Linked DNA regions of Homo sapiens: region 2 is linked to region 1. The links are contacts of gene promoters, found by promoter capture Hi-C in blood cells and fetal thymus (Javierre and others, 2016). All regions are on one chromosome and are shown on one strand. Each heading gives the region's core, a stretch centred on a gene start or on the middle of the fragment in contact. The rest is flanking DNA. Distances are from core to core; before and after follow the strand shown.

Region 1 (4,237 bases), core at 390-2,889:
TTTAATATCTTTTTTTCCCTCATTTCCACATCCAAGCAGGGACACTATCTAGTGGATTTTATCCCTTCACATCTCTGGTTCTTTCATTACATCTCAGTAACATTAGCTACTATTATTGTCATTAGTTCATTTGCCTTATTTAAACTTGCTTCTCCTATTAGCTGATTAGAGCTGACCCTTACAGAAAATGTAAGCCAAATAATATTTTCAGAATTAGATCAATTAATAATTATGTCTCTTCAAGACTCCAGAAACAATTAAACTTCAGTCAATATTAGTTCATCCCGACTTGTTTTGAAATTTTTTTTCTATATAGACAAGCAGTGCCAGCACCAGATTTTGTTTAGATTTTCAGTCAAACAAGCACATTTGGTCAAGAGTTTTTCATTCTTCAGGAGATTGGTAACATTTTCCTGTGGCCTGGTGAATTTTATGACTTTCTAAGGTTTGAATAGTAAGAATATTGATTAATCTATGCATGTCAAGTTGCTGGATTTGATCTAGTTGACATTGATATTTGACAGTATGTTTAGTCATTAAAAGCTCAAATGTCATAGTACTCTTAACCTCTGCTTTCTCCTCACCACATAACGCACAGATCTCGTATATTTAAGTAGCACTTTTTATATGAAAGGGTCATGTCAAAGATTAAATTTCCATGATTTCCAGTAGAGAGAAAAACCACAAGAGTATTAAAATGAATGGCTGATATATGGGAATCTAGTTTCCTTTTATTTCTCATTTAGTAAGGAAGATTCCAGGATTAGTATCTGAGCTATATGTAATCTACATGTGGCTAAATTGAACCCTTACCTTTCCTTTGCAATACATTTTCCTCCATATAACTCTGCATAGAGGCATCACAGGATTAAGAAGAAGCCCTTTTATGAAAGCCATTACACATATATACACTCACACATTTGCATGCACAAAATTAGAATATGTCAAGTCAGAAAAAGCTTATTAACATAAAATGGAGTTGGTCAATGAGTAAAAAAAATATGCTGATGGGAGGGATAAGATCTAGTGTTCGGGAGCACAATAATTTATTTTCTTTTGTATTTTAAAATAACTGGAAGAGTGGAATTGGAATGTTTCTAACACAAAAAGAAATGATAAATGCTTGAGGCAATGGATATCTTGATTACCTTATTTGATCATTACACATTGTACGCTTGTGTCAAAATATCACATGTGCCTTATAAATGTGTACAACTATTAGTTATCCATAAAAATTAAAAATTAAAAAATCCGTAAAATGGTTTAAGCATTCAGCAGTGCTGATCTTTCTTAAATTATTTTTCTAATTTTGGAAAGAAAGCACAAAATCTTTGAATTCACAATTGCTTAAAGACTGAGGTTAACTTGCCAGTGGCAGGCTTGAGAGATGAGAGAACTAACGTCAGAGGATAGATGGTTTCTTGTACAAATAACACCCCCTTATGTATTGTTCTCCACCACCCCCGCCCAAAAAGCTACTCGACCTATGAAACAAATCACACTATGAGCACAGATAACCCCAGGCTTCAGGTCTGTAATCTGACTGTGGCCATCGGCAACCAGAAATGAGTTTCTTTCTAATCAGTCTTGCATCAGTCTCCAGTCATTCATATAAAGGAGCCCGGGGATGGGAGGATTCGCATTGCTCTTCAGCACCAGGGTTCTGGACAGCGCCCCAAGCAGGCAGCTGATCGCACGCCCCTTCCTCTCAATCTCCGCCAGCGCTGCTACTGCCCCTCTAGTACCCCCTGCTGCAGAGAAAGAATATTACACCGGGATCCATGCAGCCAGCAATGATGATGTTTTCCAGTAAATACTGGGCACGGAGAGGGTTTTCCCTGGATTCAGCAGTGCCCGAAGAGCATCAGCTACTTGGCAGCTCAACAGTGAGTACTACGTACCTGGCACTATGGAGAATTATTTTTTAGGGTGTGACCATCTTCTCCTCACCATATGAATCCCTTTTGTAGTGTAAGCACGCACACCTCAAATTTCTCCTTCTTTATAATCTGTCTACCCTGCTTTCCTCCTGTCTGCCTCCAGTCTTCCTCTTCTCTCCATAAGTAAAGCGAGTGTGCCAATCACTGCGTGCTCAACTTTTTTTCCGCAAAGTTTGTAAGTAGAGAGTTAAGAAGTTCCTGAACATTAAGAATGAGAGATTGTATGAATCAATGTCTTAAATCTACAGCCAAAAAAAAAAAAAAAAAAATGGAGTGTGAAGAATTTTGAAAAGCCGTTTATTATGAGGAGGAGGAGTAGGGAGAACAAATTAAATAAATTTCCACGGTTTTCAGAAGATCATTGTGTCTCCTACACCCCCTTCAGTTTACAAAGCCTGGTCTTTAAACATAGAACTATTATTTTCTCTTCTTAGTTATGGGTGCAGGTTATTGGAATAAAAGAAAGATTGGATTCCTTTCAAAAGTTTTTCTGTGTTTCACATTGCTCAATTTTTTTCAGTTTACTTGATGGAATAATGAAAGCAATACACCACTTGCTATAGTATTTAAGGGAGTTTTATGTTTATAATATCTACAGGATAAAAAAGCAGTATTTGCAGGATTTTAGATCCTGCTTTCAGGTAGTAGTCATGGGATTTAATAAAAACCACGAAATAAAAATGTATCCAGGTCCTAGTCATTAAAAATATTAAATGGTATTTTATTACTGTACTATCAGAGTTTATCAACCAAATCCAATTCAGTCTGTATCATAGAATCATCTGTTTTAATTTCGTAGCTCCAAATATGTGCCAGAGGGCTGCGTTGGACTGACATATTATTACTGATAAAAATGTTGAAAAGTAAACATGGCAACTTCTGTAGAATTATTTAAATCAATTTGCAAAAATGAGGCCAAAATGTAAATAGATTTTTTAACATTTAAATATCATGAATATTTGGATGAGATATTACAATGAAGAGTTTTGAAGTCATAATTAACTGCTAGAAGGAAAACAAAGTAAGCTCAGGGTAATGGTTAATGTATGACCCTTTTATATAAAAAATGCTACTTCTGTATGCAAGATCTGTGTGTTGTGTGGTGAGGAGGAGGCAGATGTTAAGAACACTGAGACATTTGAGCTTTTAATGACTAAACATACTGTCAAATGTCAATGTCTGCATAAACTTCTTCCCTCCCTCAAGTCATAAATAATAAAATCTCCATCTCTATTATATATAAATCTAGTGAGTAAGGCAATACTGATGTGTGAAAATAAAGCCAGTAGAGAAATCAGAAGAAGACAATGGCAGATAACTATTCACTGGGTCCCAAAGCAAACCTACATTTCTCAGTTTCATGAGGATGTAGTAGATTGGTACGATTGTATTAAATCACCATTTGCCAGGAGTTACTTCTATGTCTGCCCAATGCTGTATTTGCATATAAAGAATATAAAACAGACCACATAATTTTGCATTGTCTGTCAAATGAAAGTTTCCAGCTTGTTGTTTTTGTTTTGTTTCCTCCCATTCTATTCCTAAATAAAGTTTCCAGCTTTTTATTCTGCATTTCTGGCAATGTGACCTGAGTTACTGGAATCTGTCATTTTTTTCTTTAGCCAGCAGGATTAATAGACATTACTTCATCAGGCAATATAAAATCTTAAGTGGCTAATGAAGTGTTAATCTTTTTCAGTTTCTCAGATTTTTACTGTTTGCCCCTAATAATTAGCTGGCCAGGTTTCTTCCTTCCTGCCTTTCTCCTTTTTTCCTTTTATTTGTCACTGAATTTTAATAGTCACTTCTCAAATATTATCTTCTGACACAGATGGCCTTAGAGTTAGTTATACATGTGTCTGTGCTGAACTTTTGCAGGCAGATTCACATTGACAATGTGGATCTAACTGAAGAAAGTAATACTACCCATTAATTTCTGGGCATGTGCTGACATATTTTGGAATGAAATCGATATTTTGTTTTTAAAATTTAATTGAAACTAAAATTATTTTCAAAAATATGTTTGATCTTATTTTTAATATGGTTAGTAATTAATATAGTTTCCATAGGATTCAACGAGGCTAAGAGATCAAATTTTGTGCTGTAAAATAATCCTAGAAAGGCAGGAATTTTTCATATATGATATTGCAGGCGTTACGACAGTCAGGTTTTTGTTGCTATTAAAGTGAAGCAAATCTGATCCCCTTTTAATTTCAACCACTAGATGATGTCTTAGACCATTGGAAAATAGTGTCTCAGAATAAATTAGACCAATATTTATGACTGAAAGTTATGAG
Region 2 (3,825 bases), core at 711-3,210, 540 kb before region 1:
GCAAGCTTCCAGACTGGAAACAAGAAAAGGCAGAATATCTACAAATGTTATTTTTTTTTTTTTTTAGAGACGGAGTCTCGCTCTTTCACCCAGGCTGGAGGGCAGCTGTGCGATCTCGGCTCACTGCAAGCTCTGCCTCCCGGGTTCACGCCATTCTCCTGCCTCAGCCTCCCGAGTAGCTGGGACTACAGGCGCCCGCCACCACGCCTGGCTAATTTTTCGGTATTTTTAGTAGTGACGGGGTTTCACCGTGTTAGCCAGGATGGTCTCAATCTCTTGACCTCGTGATCCGCCCGCCTCGGCCTCCCAAAGCAAATGTTCTTTACTATTGTTTTACTTTACTGTGATTAGAAAATGGCTTGCTTTGCCTAAGTACATGTCAACTCTCAGTAAATGGTTTCAATTCATAAGAAAGCAATTGAAAGTCATTCTAAAATTAAATTTTAGCTGCATTTAATATAGTAAGTATATAATCCACAAACAAACAATAAAGCAACTGAAGAAAAAAAGTATTCATTTGGCCTAGCCATGTCTGTGAGTAGATATGCTATTTTACTATCCTCTGAACCATGTCACTTATCTCAGATAAGGAAACAATTCAGTGCAAGAAAATGCTATCACAGAAATCAGTGCAGCTGGAGTAAAATACCTGTGAGCTCACTTGATGACAGTCCACAAACCAAAGAGGGTTCATGGGTTTGCTCAAAGATGGGGTCAGGGAAGGGTCTCTGTTTTAGTACATTTAATCTCAAAGAGAGTGAAAGTCACAAAAAACAAATCTAATTACGTCACTCTCCTGCTTAAACTCTTCATTACCCTCCCTCTGATCTCAGGAGAAAGTCCAAAATCCCAAAATGCCATCCAAAACGCTTTATGAGCTGGGTTTGCTGAGTTCTCTGGCATCAACTCTCAACATGCCCCCACTCCCTTCACAGCTGTGCAGCAAAATGCAATTCCCCAAGAACACTCTACTCCTTCAAACTGGAACACTCTTCCCTCACTTTCTCAGGACTTACTCCCATCTGTAACTCAAGCTACCACTTAAAGGGCAGCTTCTCCAGAAAGTCCTGCATTTCCAAAGTCCCGTGAGAACAGAAAGTCCTCCTGCAAGTGCTCTGAGCACCGTTCAATATATCCTATTAATCATACTGTATTGCAGGGTGGTTCGTCTGTCTCTGCCACTGGATAGCATTATTTTATCCTCACAAAACCCAATGAGATAGGTCTTATTATGCCATTATATAGATTAATAAACCAAGATTCAGAGAGAAACTTACTTAAGGTCACATAGTTAATTGGAGGTGGAAGAAGAAATAAATAAAATCCTGTAGCTTCTTTTAACCATCACACTATGCAGCCATTGAGGATGAAAGCATTAATTCAAACCATTATGAACTGTTGCTATATTAACTTAGATTTTATATATATTATATGTATAAACGATATACATATGTACATATAATGCTTAGTGTATAACCTACCTGTAACACATACTATGTGCTCAATAAACATTAGTCATCATCATTATTATTATTATCATTAGCATTATTAATGATTGGTCAGAATTTATCTCTTTCCAGGCAAAACTCCAGGAAAACAGCCAAGCCCAGGACCTTTCCAAACAATGAGAACAATCACAGGTAGTAGTTTTCTCAAACTACATCCCCTGCTTTCTTTCCTCAGAAGTTTTTAATACCAACCTGTATTAAGCTTCCAAAACAGACAAAATAGAATTGCTCTCAAAGGAAATTCCTTTTCACCTCCATCCACCTGCAATTATTCCTTGGTGATTGAGGGCTACATTAAAGAGTCTAAAGAGTATACATTTTACATCTTTGGTGCTGTCATTCTATCACTGCTTTTGCACGATATCCATCTTTATCCTTTTGGCTTGACTTAGGCCCATTATACGTGAGGCCCCATTAAACGAGTGAATTTTTACAAAACTCTTTATTTCTTTAGGGATGTGAAAATGAGTCTTATACCAATGGCAGCAGCATCTATTTGAAGACAATCTGATTTTGCAGGGACTTAAATGGAAAACAATGAAAACAGGAACTGTCTGCTATTAGATATGTTTCCTGAAACCCAAGCTGAGTAAATTAAGTCTCTTGGTTTTGTTGTTGTTCTCACCTCAGAGAGTCCTGCTTAAATCAACAGGGTTTTGAGAGTACAGATCAATAGTAAGACTTTGCATTTTTGCAGAAGAACAAAGCTTTCTGGGGAAAGAATCAGCCAATGAACAGCAATTAGTGTCTTAATTGCAAATACACTTAAAGCTCTGAAGAATTGTGTTAGTTCATTGAATTATTGAATCTGGGATTTGTTCCTCCACATTGAAAACTAAGTGCACAATTTAACATACTTGGCAACTTTTTTAAAGCACAGTCCAAACTTTGAAATGCTTCTTGCATTACAGATCCAAATAGCCCTCATGAAATAATAAAATAAAATCTTTGGTTATCATTTTATTCACAGTAGCATATTGGATTTGCAGTTAATAATTTTCAATTTCCCAAGAGTAAATTTAGCCATAAAAAATTAGTTTATAAATGACCATACAATGTTTTCAATCAACTTCCATATTAGAGATTCAGCTTCTTAATTTAGAGTTCACTCTCATTTTAAATTTATGGATGAAAGAATGAAGAGCTGAAACTTCACGTCTGTGGAGTAGACACTAGACATTGAATCCAATTAGAGCTCCTAGGTGTAGGAAGAGTTGTACTCAACATCGTAAGCACAGGGCCGAGAATTTGGGGATGTGGGAAGCCAACAGAAAGGAATAGAGCACCTAATGAAATAGTCCAGCAGAAGGGCAGAACATAAGGAGAAATCTCTGTTCATTCCACATAATTCTTTATCTGACCTCACCCCCACATTGCAGCAAGTACTACAGATGAGGTAGAGACTCCTCAGCCATAAGGAATGAACCCCAAGGCACTAGGTTCTCTCCACCTACTCTGTCTTCATAGTCACAAAGATTTTGACAGAGCTCCAAATCTGGGAGAAGATTTTGAACTATTCACAGATCTCACCGCTCCTAAAAACTTCAGAAGAGACCTCAGAGCTCCCCTCAGTGCTGTCCCCTCTACCCATTCCAGCTAGAGGAAGGACCATCACACTCTCTGACCTTCCCTGTACAAAATTCTCAGGGCTTTCATAAATACAGTTCCAATGTGCTCACAGCTGAGCTCGAGAGTCTTTATATATGGCATTGTTCTCTGAGTATCATTTTCTGCTTCTGTTGTACCACATCTTAAAACTAATTTTCTCCTAAATTCTATTAGTATAATATTTTCTAAACTGTGAAGAAAAAGTCATTGGCCATTTTAATGGTGATATCATAGTGATTTATATTCATTTTTTCAAGCTTTCTGAGAAGAATGGAAGTAGAATTTTTTTAAAGTAAAAACAAAAAATTTCAGAATGCATAAAGGGAGAACTACATAAATAATCCTTCATGTCCAATGTAGTGCTTTTTAACACTGGGTCCATGAATTGTTATGGTTATCAATGTGTCAGCATATGTCTACTCAGAATGTGTCCATATACATCTACTTATGGAAATTTCGGGTGTATACATATATGAGAATTTTATGTAGGCATCATCGCTTTTATAATATTTTAAATAGGGAAAATGCATCAAAAAAAGTTTTAGGGGAGATAAATTAATAAAAAGTTCAAAATTTTTATCTCACCTTACTATTCAGCCTTTTAATGCCATGAACTTTTTTGGCAGGGGTCAGCCCTTTGCTTCTGAAGATAGAGATATAGATGCAGTATTCTGTATATGTAGACACAGATATAATAGCAGTCATTTTG

The links. Contacts are between HindIII fragments. The CHiCAGO score rates a contact against its expected background, and 5 or more counts as called.
Region 2: a contact is called between a fragment that was not itself captured here and the fragment with the promoter of TPH2 in region 1, in 1 of 17 cell types (non-activated CD4 T cells). The highest score is 5.0, in non-activated CD4 T cells.

What each region holds. Positions count from the first base shown.
Region 1 is chr12:71,937,206-71,941,442 of GRCh38, forward strand. It overlaps TPH2 (tryptophan hydroxylase 2), which reads left to right and starts at 1,640. Exons shown (of 11, transcript NM_173353.4): 1 at 1,640-1,886. The coding sequence starts at 1,782. RefSeq lists a silencer at 1,506-1,805. The HindIII fragment of the contact is 5,670 bases long and covers 958-4,237 here.
Region 2 is chr12:71,398,573-71,402,397 of GRCh38, forward strand. No RefSeq gene overlaps it. Among named protein-coding and RNA genes, the nearest start is that of LGR5, 39 kb to the right of the region's middle. The HindIII fragment of the contact is 505 bases long and covers 1,709-2,213 here.